3 separate regions of the Homo sapiens genome follow, and all the other regions are linked to region 3. Evidence: promoter capture Hi-C in 16 types of primary human blood cells and fetal thymus (Javierre and others, 2016). All regions are on one chromosome and are shown on one strand. The core of a region is centred on a gene start or on the middle of the fragment in contact, and the rest is flanking DNA. Distances in the headings are between cores, read along the strand shown. Region 1 holds the start of HNRNPM (heterogeneous nuclear ribonucleoprotein M). Region 2 holds the start of MARCHF2 (membrane associated ring-CH-type finger 2). Region 3 holds the start of ELAVL1 (ELAV like RNA binding protein 1).

The links. The method cuts DNA at HindIII sites, captures the fragments that hold promoters and counts their contacts. A CHiCAGO score of 5 or more calls a contact.
Region 1: the fragment with the promoter of HNRNPM here is called in contact with the fragment with the promoter of ELAVL1 in region 3 in 12 of 17 cell types (fetal thymus, naive B cells, activated CD4 T cells and 9 more); the score reaches 12.9 in fetal thymus.
Region 2: the fragment with the promoter of MARCHF2 here is called in contact with the fragment with the promoter of ELAVL1 in region 3 in 7 of 17 cell types (total CD4 T cells, total B cells, naive CD8 T cells and 4 more); the score reaches 7.1 in total CD4 T cells.

What each region holds. Positions count from the first base shown.
Region 1 is chr19:8,442,405-8,446,596 of GRCh38, forward strand. It overlaps HNRNPM (heterogeneous nuclear ribonucleoprotein M), which reads left to right and starts at 2,571. Exons shown (of 16, transcript NM_005968.5): 1 at 2,571-2,707. The coding sequence starts at 2,595. RefSeq lists silencers at 2,330-2,609, 2,850-3,079. The HindIII fragment of the contact is 1,747 bases long and covers 2,213-3,959 here.
Region 2 is chr19:8,411,749-8,416,246 of GRCh38, forward strand. MARCHF2 (membrane associated ring-CH-type finger 2) reads left to right here and starts at 1,557. Exons shown (of 5, transcript NM_001005415.2): 1 at 1,557-1,672. RefSeq lists enhancers at 17-311, 1,182-1,682 and silencers at 1,174-1,533, 1,564-1,723, 3,877-4,171. The HindIII fragment of the contact is 7,216 bases long and covers 1-3,576 here.
Region 3 is chr19:8,003,612-8,007,988 of GRCh38, forward strand. It overlaps ELAVL1 (ELAV like RNA binding protein 1), which reads right to left and starts at 2,030. Exons shown (of 6, transcript NM_001419.3): 1 at 1,884-2,030. LOC105372266 (a long non-coding RNA gene) reads left to right here and starts at 2,202. Exons shown (of 4, transcript XR_936302.2): 1 at 2,202-2,347. RefSeq lists silencers at 1,406-1,455, 1,486-1,685, 1,916-2,405. The HindIII fragment of the contact is 3,163 bases long and covers 708-3,870 here.

The sequences.
Region 1 (4,192 bases), core at 1,321-3,820, 440 kb after region 3:
ACAAAAAGAGAAAGAAACAGAGAGAGAGAGAAGGAAAAGTGTTTTCTTTGCAAATCTATTCTAATACTTTCATAGAGAAGAGTTTTAGTTTGGTGTTAACCTGTCTTTAATAATCCTCTAAGGACCAGCACAGTGGCTCACGCTTATAATCCCAGCACTGTGGGAGGCCAAGGCTGTAGGATCCCTTGAGCTCAGGAGTTCGAGACCATCCTGGGAAAAACGGCAAGACCCTATCTGTACCAAAAAATAAAAATAAAAAATTAGCCAAGTGCAGCGGCGTGCACCTACAGTCCCAGCTACTTGACAGGCTAAGCAGGGGAGGATCGCTTGAGTTCAGGAGTTCAAGGTTGCAGTGAGCTATCATTTACAAAGGTAGATTGAAATATTATTGATAGGCTGGGCACGGTGACTCACACCTGTAATCCCAGCACTTTGGGAGGCTGAGGTGGGCAGATCACCTGAGGTCAGGAGTTTGAGACTAGTTTGGCCAGCATGGCAAAACCCCATCTCTACTAAAAAATACAAAACTTAGCCAGGCGTCGTGGTGTGCACCTGTAATCCCAGATACTTGGAAAGCTGATGCAGAAGAATCGCTTGAAATCAGGAGGCGGAGGTTGCAGTGAGCTGAGATGGTGCCACTGCACTCCAGCCTCTGTGACAGAGCAAGACTGTCTCCAAAAAAAGAAAAAAATATATTATTGATAATCGCTGCATTGAAGGCCAGGCGCAGTGGTTTACGCCTACAATCGCAGCACTTTGGGAGCCTGAGGCAGGCGGATCACGAGGTCAGGAGTTCGAGACCAGCCTGACCAATATGATGAAACCTTGTCTCTACTAAAAATACAAAAGTTAGCCGGGCGTGGTGGCATGCACCTGTAATCCCAGCTACTCGGGAGGCTGAGACAGGAGAATCGCTTGAACCCAGGAGGCGGAGGTTGCAGCGAGCCGAGATGGCGCCATTGCACTCCAGTCTGGGCAACAAGAGCGAAACTCCGTCTCAAAAAGATAATCGCTGCATCTTACTGCCCAAGTTGCCACAAGCACACGTAACATCTGATGGTGCCAATTCGACTGTCTGCACTTGGAAAATGGCACATTGGAGGCTGCACAGCACCATAAAACTGATGCCACGAATGCACACAAAAATAAGACCATACAGCATTATGCCTAGTACAGAATACACCCTGAATTCTGTCACAGTTCACTTTATGCAACATTGCAAGAGTCCTCTCGCTCTTTATTATTATTTTTAATTTTTTTGAGATGGGGTCTCACTCTGTGACCAGGCTGGAGTGCAGTGGCCCGATCTTGGCTCACTGCAACCTCCTCCTCCTGGGTTGAAGCGATTCTCCTGCCTCAGGCTCCCCAGTAGCTGGGATTATGGGCGCCTGCCACCACACCCGGCTAATTTTTGTATTTTTAGTAGAGACAGGGTTTCATCATGTTGGCCAGGATGGTCTGATCTCTTGACCTCGTGATCCACCCGCCTTGGCCTCTCAAAGTGGTAGGATTACAGGCGTGAGCTGCCGCGCCCAGCCATTAATTTTTTTTTTAATTTTGTTTTTAACTTTTAGGTTTGGGGGTAAATGTGAAGGTTTGTTAAATAGGTAAACACTTGTCATGGAGGTTTGTTGTACAGATTATTTCATCACCCAGGTATTAAGCCCAGTACTCAATACTTATCTTTTTGTTTTTTGAGATGGAGTCTCAGTCTATCTCCCAGGCTGCGGTGCAGTGGCGTGATCTCGGCTCACTGCAACCTCCGGCTCCTGGGTTCAAGCGATTCTCCTGCTTCAGCCTCCCGAGTAGCTGGGATTACAGGCGCCCGCCACCACGTCCAGCTAATTTTTTTATTTTTAGTAGAGACGCGGTTTCACCATGTTGGCCAGTCTGGTCTCGAACTCCTGACCTCAGGTGATCCGCCGCCTCGGCCTCCCATACCCAAAGTGCTGGGATTACAGGAGTGAGCCATCGCGCCTGGCCCCATTATTAGTGAATTTTAACAGTTTTCCGTTTCTTCTGGACGAACTGTTTGCAATTATAATGCGAATTACGGATAATACTCTGATATTATTCCATGCCGTTCCGTTGTTGCCTACAAAGTTCGCGCTGGAGAACCGCGCAATTGCGTTACAAAAAGAAAAAAATCACACAAAAAGACACAATGTTTTAAGAAAGTTTACGAATCGTGTGCCGGACCGCGGGTTGAACAAGCTTCATCTAAAACTTCCAGGAATCTCTAGACAGGATCATTGCTTCCCCTCTGCTCCAGCTCTGGTTACAGAAAGCTGAGAGTGACTAGGTCTAGGTGTTTGTGTGGGGTGGGGTGGGGAGATGCCTCCTCTATCGGACTCAGAGGACGCGCGCCGGGAACAGCCAGTCGGTGCCTAACGCGAGTGTATCTCGAGAGAGAAGCGATCAACAGCTGCCGGTCTGCGCCTGCGCGCGGCGGGGGCGTGGCCCGGGGCGAGTGGGGCCAAGGAGGCAGCCGGGAGCGGCGGGCGCAGGTGTTACTGGTTGCGTCGGGTCACGTGGGCGCGCAGGCGCAGCGCGGTGCAGCCCGTTCGCTCACACAAAGCCCAGACGCGGAGAAAATGGCGGCAGGGGTCGAAGCGGCGGCGGAGGTGGCGGCGACGGAGATCAAAATGGAGGAAGAGAGCGGCGCGCCCGGCGTGCCGAGCGGCAACGGGGCTCCGGGCCCTAAGGGGTGAGTATCCCACGGTCCTTTGCCACGGGTAAGGGTTCCTCTCCGCGGCCGACGCGGGCGGCGGCTCCGTTAGGTCTGTTGGCGGCCTAGCCCCGGCGCGGCCTCGGCCCCGGCTGTTCCCGTACCGCCTGCTCAGGGTAGCGGCGTCTAGGGCCGTGAGCGGGGAGCCGGGGGAGCCTCCAGAATCGTCCCCTACACCGGGCCTCGAGCCTCGCCACCCTCAGTCCCTCCAGGCCGGGGCCAACCCCGTAGTCGAGGCCTCAGGCCCAGCTGCTGCGCATGGGGGTTGATGGCGCGGGCCCGGACCGGAGAGCCTCCGAGGCCTACCCGACCGCTCCCCGGGAGGGTGACCTCGGGGGCCGGGTTTCAGCCCCCCGTCCCCTCTCCTCCCGGGGTCTGTTTTCTGATCCGTAACGTGGGGGGAGGAGAGAGGGTGCGCGCCCGGGAGGCCTCGCGCGCAGTCAGCCCGAGTCAACGGTAACCGAGCGAGGGAAGCGTCAGGAAGGGCCGCGAAGCCGGGTCGGGGGGCTCCCCTCCTGCCCCGCCCCTTAGTCCCCGCGCGCCGACCGCGCTCCGCGGGAAGTGCCTCCCTCGGAACCGCCCCTCGCCCCACGCTCTGGCCCTGGCTCAAGTCCCTCGCCGTTTCCCGCTCCTCCTCCCCGGGTGCGCCGCAGGTATTAGTGGAGAGATGGGATCTGCTGCTTAGCGTTCACCCTCGGAAGCAGACAGATACGAAGTCGGGGGAGGAATCCCCTTTTTCCCGTGTTTCGGGGAAGCTGTTCTGTCAGGAGGCGGGTTCATTTACTTCCAGACTTCATCAGCTTTTCGAGTCCTGCTTGGGGCTCTTTGACTCCTTGGCTTTTAAAAGTTTCTTTAAAGGAGGAAGCATCGACTTGTGCCCCGGTGAAACTCATTCATTCTGATTACAGACACTTAAGAGAGACAGAGAGGTTTTGGCTCCAAGATCAGCGGCCGGGAAGGAAGGGGAAGCCTGGGTACACATTGAATTTCCCAGACATTTATTTCATTGTGGTAAAATAGACATAACGTAGACTTTGCCATTTTAACCATTTTTTAAGCGTATAATTCAGTGGCATTGAGTATACTGACTCAGTGTGCTGTAACCGTCACTGCTTCATGTCCAGAACTTTTTCATCATCGGAAACAGAAAGTGTAGCTATTAAATACTAACTCCCTCCGTTTTCTTTCCTTTCTGTCTGTGACTTTGCCTTCCTCATATTGTAATGTGTGAAGCTTAGTTTATGGAGATTAAAAGTGAATGCGGTTGAGCACTTATATATTTAATTTTTTTCTTTGAGACAGGGTCTCCCTCTGTTACCCAAGCTGGGATGCAGTGGCACGATCACAGATCACTGCAGCCTCGAACTCCTGGGCTCAATCGATCCTTCCATCTCAGCCTCCTGAGTAGCTGGGATCACAGGCGCGGCACCACCATGCCCGGCTAATTTTTTGAAGAGAGGAGGT
Region 2 (4,498 bases), core at 307-2,806, 410 kb after region 3:
AGTAGCTGGGACCACAGGAGGATGCCACCACAACTGGCTAATATTTTTATTTTATTTTGTAGAGATGGGGTCTCACTGTGCTGCCCAGACTGATCTCAGACTCCTAGACCCAAGAGACCTTCCTGCCTTGGGCTCCCAAAGAGCTGGGATTGCAGACATGACTCACTGTGCCTGGCCTGGACTTTGGATTTTTAAAGGACTTTATTGGAAACTTTTCTTTTCTTTTTTTTGAGACAGAGTCTGGCTGTGTTGCCCAGGTTAGAGTGCAGTGGCAAGATCTCCGCTCACTGCAACCTCCACCTTGCAGATTCAAGCAATTCTCCTGCCTCAGCCTCCTGAGTAGCTGGAATTACAGGTGCCCACAACAAAACCCAGCTAATTATTTGTATTTTTAGTACAGACAGGGTTTCACCATGTTGGCCGGGCTGGTCTCGAACTCCTGACCTCAAATGATCCAAGTGCTGGGATTACAGGCATGAGTCACTGCACCTGGCCTTTGAATGGGCTCTGGGAATTACATGATAATATTAGATGAACATTAATTTTCTGATTTTGAAGGTTATACTGTGATTATGTGCAAAAGTGTGCTTATACTAAGTGAACATATAGTGCAGTATTTTTTTAAAAATTGATCTGTCTTAGAGATGGGGGTGGGTGAGTTTACTATGTTGCCCAGACTGGCCTCGAACTCCTGGGCTCAAGTGATCCTCTTGCCTCAGCCTCCAGAGCAGCTGGGACTACAGGCCTGGGCCACCACACTTGGCTAACTTTTATTTTATTTTATTTTATTATTTATTTATTTATGTATTTATTTGAGACAGAGTCTCACTCTGTCACCCAGGCTGGAGTGCAGTGGCGCGATGTCGGCTCACTGCAAGCTCTGCCTCCCGGGTTCACGCCATTCCTCTGCCTCAGCCTCCCGAGTAGCTGGGACTACAGGCGCCCGCCACCACGCCCGGCTAATTTTTTTGTATTTTTAGTAGAGACGGGGTTTCACCGTGTTAGCCAGGATGGTCTCGATCTCCTGACCTCGTGATCCGCCCGCCTCGGCTTCCCAAAGTGCTAGGATTACAGGCGTGAGCCACCGCGCCCATCCTTTTAAATTTTTTGTAGAGACGGGAACTCACCATGTTGCCCAGGCTGGTCCCCAACATCTGGCCTCAAGCGATCCTTCCGTCTCGGCCTCCCAAAGTGCTCCGATTACAGGCATGAGCCACTGCACCCGGCCAGTCTCAAAAAAAAAAAAGTTAAATTCTGCAGAGGTTTTATTTATTAGAGGACGCTGGCCGTCTGCAGGTGGCGCAGCAGCACCCCCTCGTGCCTGGGGCGGGGCTGGGGCGGGGCCAGTGCTGGGGCGGAGCCGGAGCTGGGGGCGGAGCCAAGACGCGGCAGGGGCGGAGCCAGCAGCTGCGGCACAGCGGGGCCTGTGCGGCCCAAGTCGTCCCTGTGGCCTCCGGCCCCGCCTCTTAGGGCGGGACGTGCAAGGCGATTGGCGAATGCAGGCGAGAGGCGGTCGCTATTGGTCCGCGGCGCTGTCGGCTCGGCGGGCGGTGCCCGGACGCAGGTGCCGGCCGGAGCGGAGCTAGTGGCGCCGACGGGCCGGGCCGGGCCGGGACCGGGGCCGAGGCGAACCGAGGGGCCTGTGCGGCCGCCCGGCCCGGCCGCGGATCAGGTAGGCACGGGCCTGCAGGTAGGGCCGGAGGACGCCAGTCCGCGGGCCGGCCCCGGGTTCGAGGCCGGAGCTCGGCACCCGGGCGGGACGGCTGGGCTCGATCCCTTGGCCACAGCCTTCTCGGGGACGCGGGGACCTCAGTTCCCGTGTCAAGGCCGGTGGGAGGTCTCCGGGGTCCGGCACACATAGGCGCCTCTCCGAGCCTCGGTTTCCCCACCTGTGAAACTGGGTCATCCCATTGCCAACCTGATGGGGCTTCTGGGAGGATTCAGGAGGTGGCTGGTGCAGAAAACGCCTGACACACAGTAGGCAACTGCTAAGTGGCCAATGCCCTTCCCCAACCTCCTTCTCAGAGCGGCTCTGCCTGCAAAATAGTAAGTTATAATATAATGACCCAGCCACTTTGCACAAAGATGCTGAAACAGGATGCCCTGTGCTATGTGGGTGCTCAAAACGGGGTAGTCAAATGGGCATGTTGAGCTCATTCAGTTCTTTTGAAACCATACTGAGTAGGTGGAAGCAGTAGAAATGTCCCCTGTTATACAGTTGAGAGAGTCCAGGCTCAAAGAGGTTAAGTGTCTTGCCCAGGGCCACACAGCACATAAGGAGTAGAGCTGGGATTGGAACCTTGCTTCTCATGCAGGGAGGAATGAATGCAATAACAACCTCCACATTTACCCTAAAAAATATTAATAGAGCTTTTATTGAGCACTTACTGTGTGTGCCAGGGTTGACTGTGTGACCTCTCATCAACAACTCTGTAAGCTGATGATAGTAATTATAATAAGAGCTAATAGTTATTAACTTCTTAATTTTTTACTAATTTATGAACTACATATCATTATGACTCCCCGTCTTTTTTTTTTTTAGACAGAGTCTCTCTCTCTTGCCCAGGCTGGAATGCAGTGGCACGATCTGAGCTCATTGCAACCTCTGCCTCCCAGATTCAAGCGATTCCTACCTCACCCTGGTCAAGTAGTTGGGATTACAGGCCCCCGCCACCGTGCCTGGCCAATTTTTGTCTTTTTAGCAGAAACGGGGTTTCACCATGTTGACCAGGCTGGTCTCGAACTCCTGGCCTCAAGTGATCCACCTTCCTTGAACTCCCAAAGTGCACAAAGTGCTGGGATTACAGGCGTGAGCCACTGCGCCCGGCCTGTAACACTCATTTTAGAGATGATAATACTGAGGCTGAGAGAGTAAAACAGCTGCCTGAGACCACAATGTAGGGAGTTTTAGGGCCCTCTGATTCCTCTGCCCTCTGTTTCCTACCTTCAGGAAAAGGAGCCTGGGCAGGTATGGAAAAGACTGGGGGGCCTCAGTGCCACCCTAAACAAGCCTAGCTAAGGGTGAGCTTTACTGGATGAATTCAGCCTGGAGGCTCCTTCTCAGGAGACCCCTCCACGGACAGAGTCCACCAGCTCCATCATTAGAATGAGGCCCAGAGAAGCAAAGTGACTTGAACCAGGACACCCAGCATCGGTGGCATAGCCAGGAGGGCCAGGAGTTAAAGAACCCAGGTCTCTTGAGGTCCAGAACCACTCCCTGGACTGTTTTAAGTTCAAATTCTGACACCACCCCTTCCTAGCTATATGACCTTGGGAAAGTAGGTGCCTCTCTCCGAGCTTCAGCCTCTTTCCCCATCATAGGGTGTAATTATTGGTTTGTTGTGAAGACTCAATGAGATCTATCTCCAGGCCGGGCGTGGTGGCTCATGCCTGTAATCCCAACACTTTGAGAGGCCAAGGCGGGCAGATCACTAGGCCAGGAGTTCAGGACCAGCCTGGGCAACTTGGCAAAACACCATTTCTACAAAAAAATACAAAAATTAGCTGGATGTGGTGGTGTGCAGAGCTACTCAGGAGGCTGAGGTGGGAGGATCACCTGAACCTGGGGGCGGTGGAAGCTTCAGTGAGCTGTGATTACTACACTGCCCTCCAGCCTTTTGGGTGACAGATTGAGACCCTGCCTCAAAAGAAAAAAAAAAAAAAACAGACAAAAGAAAGAAAAGAAATAGGCCAGGCGCGGTGACTCATGCCTGTAATCCCAGCACTTTGGGAAGCCAAGGCGGGTGGATCACCTGAGATAAGGAGTTTGAGACCATCCTGGCCAACATGGTGAAACCCCGTCTCTACTAAAAATACAAATAATTAGCCAGCTGTGGGTGGAGGGCACCGGTAATCCCAGCTACTCTGGTGGTTGAGGCAGGAGAATCGCTTGAACCTGGGAGGCGGAGGTTGCAGAGAACCGAGGTGGTGCCATTGCTCTCCACCCTGGGCAACAAGAGTGAAACTCCATCTCAAAAAAAAAAAAACAAAAAAAACAAAAAAAAAAACCAGACAAAAGAAAGAAGAGAAATAAATCTCCTGGGCACTGGGCCAAGTTTGCTGGAGCCATCAGATCACTCTCCCATTTCAGCAGCCTCAGAGCTGAGTCCGACTTGCAGTCACCCTCTCTTTGTGTCCAGCCTCAAGTTTGGCCTCTTCCAGGCCTGGGCCTCTGTGGTTTGAGTGGACCTCTAGCCTCTAAATATCTCTGATGCCCACCACAGGGGCTGGCCGACCAGGATCGGAGGGTCAAGAGATGTGGCTCTCTCACGCTGTTCTTAAACGGAGTGAGGATTGAGAAATGACTACAACATGGCCAGGCACAGTGGCTCATGCCTGTAATCCCAGCACTTTAGGAGGCTGAGGTGGGCGGATCACGAGGTCAGGAGTTCGAGACTGGCCTGGCCAACATGGTGAAACCCTGTCTCTACTAAAAATACAAAAATTAGCCGGGTATGGTGGTGGGTGCCTGTAATCCCAGCTACTCGGGAGGCTGACG
Region 3 (4,377 bases), core at 780-3,279:
AACCCGGGAGGCGGAGCTTGCAGTGAGCCGAGATCGCACCACTGCACTCCAGCCTGGGCGGCAGAGTGAGACTCCGTCTCAAAAAAAAAAAAAAAAAAGAAATAGCACCATGATCTCAGACTCAACACATCCAGACTGAAACTCTGTCTGCTCAAAACCAATGCATCAACATAAACAGTATTATTTCCTTCCACATTTGAGACGTTCGTGTATCTCAACCTCTTTGTGGGCCTCGAAGTTGCAGAATTTGATAATAGATCCCAGCACAGAACTTTGCACACAGAAAATATTCGATGACAACTGGAGTGCCCTGGAGCCTTGTGATTATAGGAGCAGTACAATCGAGTGGTTAAGAGTAAGGGTTTTGAATCAGAGGGCCCGAGTTCAAACCCTGGCGCAGCCACTTTAGTGCATGAGACTGGTCACATCAAGTGACCCATCTAAGCCTCAGTTTCTTCATCTCTAAAATGGAAATTAATGGAAATTATAACATCACCTGCCTCAAGGACTGCAGACAAACGTCCACAAAGTGTCAAGCACATAGTAAATCCTCAATAAATACTGGTGGCTATGTACAACATCATTTATTCAGTGCCTACCAGGCACAGACCACGCACAACGCAACGGGATTTCCACCCTCTTCAATTTGCACCACACTTTTGTCCTTCCCATTTTATAGATAAGAAAACTAAGGCTCAACAGAGTCAAGCTTGTTCGAGGTCTTGGGAGCATCTCCCAGGGCATTAGAACTTTTGGAGGAAGAGCATTTAGTTCAGTAATGGTTCTCACCTGTGCGTGTGAGAGTGGAAGAGACCCCTCCCCCGCAACCCGAGCCATCTGGCAATGTTTGGAGATACTTTTGATCCTCACGACTTGGAGCATGGGGATACTGCTGGCATCTAGTGGGTAGAGGCCAGGAATACGGCTCAACTTCCTACATTGCACAGGGAAGCCCCCACTACCACCACAACCAAAAACTATCTGACCCCAAACATCAGTAGGGCCAACGTCGAGAAACCCTGCTCTAGACAGATCATTCTCCTCATCTTCCCATTTCTGGCCATCCGGATCTTAGATGAACACTTTCTAGCAAGGGGGCTCAGTCCCACCACGGGAAGCCCATGCAGAAGTTGTGCAGAAGTTCTTCTCCACCTGCCCTGCACACAGTAGGGACCAAAACCCATTTTAACAAGCCCCGCAGCCCAGAGCACCGGAAAAGGAAGGAAGGGCATCCATCCCCCATTGTTCAACTGTGTGCAGCTTGTGTTTCCAACAGGCACACACACATATTTTACAAATCCTAACGTCCCACGCCCCACAAACAGCTTTGTTAGAGATGGCGCTCAAAAAAAGATGCAGTTTAGATTTTTTTTTTCCCCCAGGACTCCCGTGTATCTACTGAAGGGTTTGCACACTTCTCAAAGGACCTCGCACCGGCCGCGGTGCTCTGACAACGACCACAAAAGAATCTGTGGGATTTCCCGGGGGAGCAAGCCCGTGGGCCGTGACCTCTGCGCGCTCAAAGCGTTCCCGGCGCTCCCCCGTAGCTGGCCCCACTCTCCCGCCCCCGGAGCCCGGGCTTCCAAGGCGACCGGGGCCCCCGGCCGTGCAGCCCGGCCCCCCGGCGCATGCCCACGCCGTATCCCCCTCGCCCGTCCCTCGAGGCGCCAGAGGAATCCGGCCCCGGGGCCTGTAGCCGGCGCCCACACCGGCCCGCCCCGACCCGCCCGCCGCGGCCCCAGCGCGCGTCCCCTCCCCCGGTCCGGCGCGGCCTGGGCCTCGGCCGGTGCAGGCCCGCGGGCGCCCCGCGGCCAGGCCAGGCGAGCTCAGGCCTGCCGCGGCCTACCCCGTCGGGCGCCGCCGAAGGCCCCCCACCGCCTCACCTGGATGCGGGCGGGCGGGCCCGGGGCTGCTCCGGGGCGGGCGGGAGGCGGCGGCGGCGCGGCGCTAACGGCTCCGCTCGGCCTCGGTAGCGGTGGCGGCGGTGGCGGCGACGGCGACGGCGGCAGCGGCTCCTCCTCAGCGCGCACGACCCGCTCCGGCCCGCGGCCCGGACACGCCCCCCCCGCGCGCGAGCCCATTGGCCGACGTCCGCCACGGCGCGCTGCTCATTGGCCGGCGTAGCTGTCGCGGCGCTCCGGGGCGCGCGGGAGAGGCGGGACTTCCGGTCGGCGCCGCCTGCGAAGTGCTCCGCGGCCGGCGGAGACGCGGGCAGCCAGCGATGGCCGCGGAGGGGGCGAACTGGGTTCCGGCCCTCGGAGGCTGACGGAAGGCGGTGGCTGAGGAGCGGCGCCTCTGGTTGAGCGCTCGCCGTGTGTCCCGCACCTGTCTGTCCTGCCGCCGCCCGGTAAGGTAGGAAAGGTCAGCGCGCCGGGGTTACGGGTACAGAACCTGGGTTCGAATCCCGGCCCCGACGTTTCCGCACTACGTGCCGTTGGGCAGGAGCTGACGTCACCTTGCCGGGCCTCAGTTTCCTTCTCTGGTGCGCTGAGGAGGCGGGGCATGGAACGTGGTCAGCGCTTCATCGGTGCTGGCTCTTTGAGCAAGCCAGTTCCCGAAGGCTCAGCATCTCATTCATTCATTAAAATGTCATTGAGCGCCTACTGTGTGTCAATCACTGTATGGGCAGTGAGCAGAAAAAAAATACCTGGTCTTATTGGGCTAACATTCTAAACCAGCGCTGGCCTAGAATGCCCTAGTAGAAATACATGCAAGCTACATGTTTAATTTTTTTTTATGTAAAGATGGGCTCTGGTTCTGTTGCCCAGGCTGGTCTCGAACTCCTGGACTCAAGCGATTCTCCTGCCTCCGCCTCCCAAAGAGCTGGGATTACAGGCATGCCTGCACTCTGCCTAATTTTTTCTTTTTTTTTTTTATGATCTGAAAATAATAGTCTTTTTATTTTTATTTATTTATTTATTTATTTGAGACGGAGACTCGCTCTGTCGCCAGGCTGGAGTGCAGTGGCGTGATCTCCGCTCACTGCAACCTCCGCTTCCCAGGTTCAAGCGATTCTCCTGCCTCAGCCTCCTAAGTAGTTGGGCCTACAGGCGCTGCGCCACCACAACCAGCTAATTTTTGTATTTTTAGTAGAGACGGGGTTTCACCGTGTTGGCCATGATGATCTGTATCTCTTGACCTCGTGATCTGCCCGCCTCAGCCTCCCAAAGTGCTGGGATTACAGGCTTGAGCCACTGCGCCTGGCCTACAATTTTGTTTTTCTTTTTTTTTTTTTTTTTTTGAGACAGGATCTCACTCTGTCACCCAATTTGGAGTGCGGTGGTATGATCACAGCTAACTGCAGCCTCAACTTCCCCAGCTCAGGCAATCAATCCTCCGGCTTCAGATTCCTGAGTAGCTTAGACTACAGGATGTGCCACTATGCCTGGCTAATGTTTTATTTTTTTGTAGCGATGAGGTCTTGCTGTATTGCCTAGGCTGGTCTCAAACTTCTAGACTTAAGTGATCCTCCTGCTTTGGCCTCCCAAAGTGTTGGGATTACAGGCGGGAGCCACGGTGCCCAGCCTGTTTCTTTTTTTAATCATATTTTCTTAGAAGTTTTTTTTTTTTTTTTTTTTTTTTTTGGAGACAGGGTCTCACTCTGCTGTGCAGGCTGGAATGCAGTGGTGTGATCTCAGCTCACTGCAACCTCTGCCTCCCTATTCAAGTGATTCTCGTGCCTCAGCCTCCCAAGTAGCTGGGATCACAGGCGTGCAACATCACACCCAGCTAATTCTTGTGGTTTTAGTAGAGATGGGGTTTTGCCATGTTGGCCAGGCTGGTCTCAAACTCCTGGCCTCAAGTGATCCACCCACCTCGGCCTCCCAAAGTGCTGGGATTACAGGCATGAGCCACCACCCGGCCTAGGAAAGCTTTTTAGAGATTGGGTCTCACTGTGTTGCCCAGGCTGGAGTGCAGTGGCTGTTCACAGGTGCAATCATCCCACAGGTTTAACTCCTGACCTCAAGCAGTCCTTCTGCCTCAGGCTCCCAAGTAGCTGGGATTATAGGCACGTGCCACCACACCTAGCTCAATTAAATGTTAAATTTAACATTTAATTGTTAAATTTTATAGTAGCCAGCATTCTGGGTCATCACGGTGCAATAGAAGTATAAACAAAGCAGGCCAGGCACAGTAGGTCACGCCTGTAATCCCAGCACTTTGGGAGGCCGAGGCGGGCAGATCACCAGGTCAGTAGTTCGAGACCAGCCTGGCCAACATGTTGAAACCCCAGTCTCTACTAAAAATACAAAAATTAGCTGGACGTGGTGGCAGGAGCCTGTAATCCCAGCTACTCGGGAGGCTGAGGCAGGAGAATCGCTTGAAACTGGAAAGTGGAGGTTGCAGTGAGCCGAGATCCCGCCACTGCACTCCAGC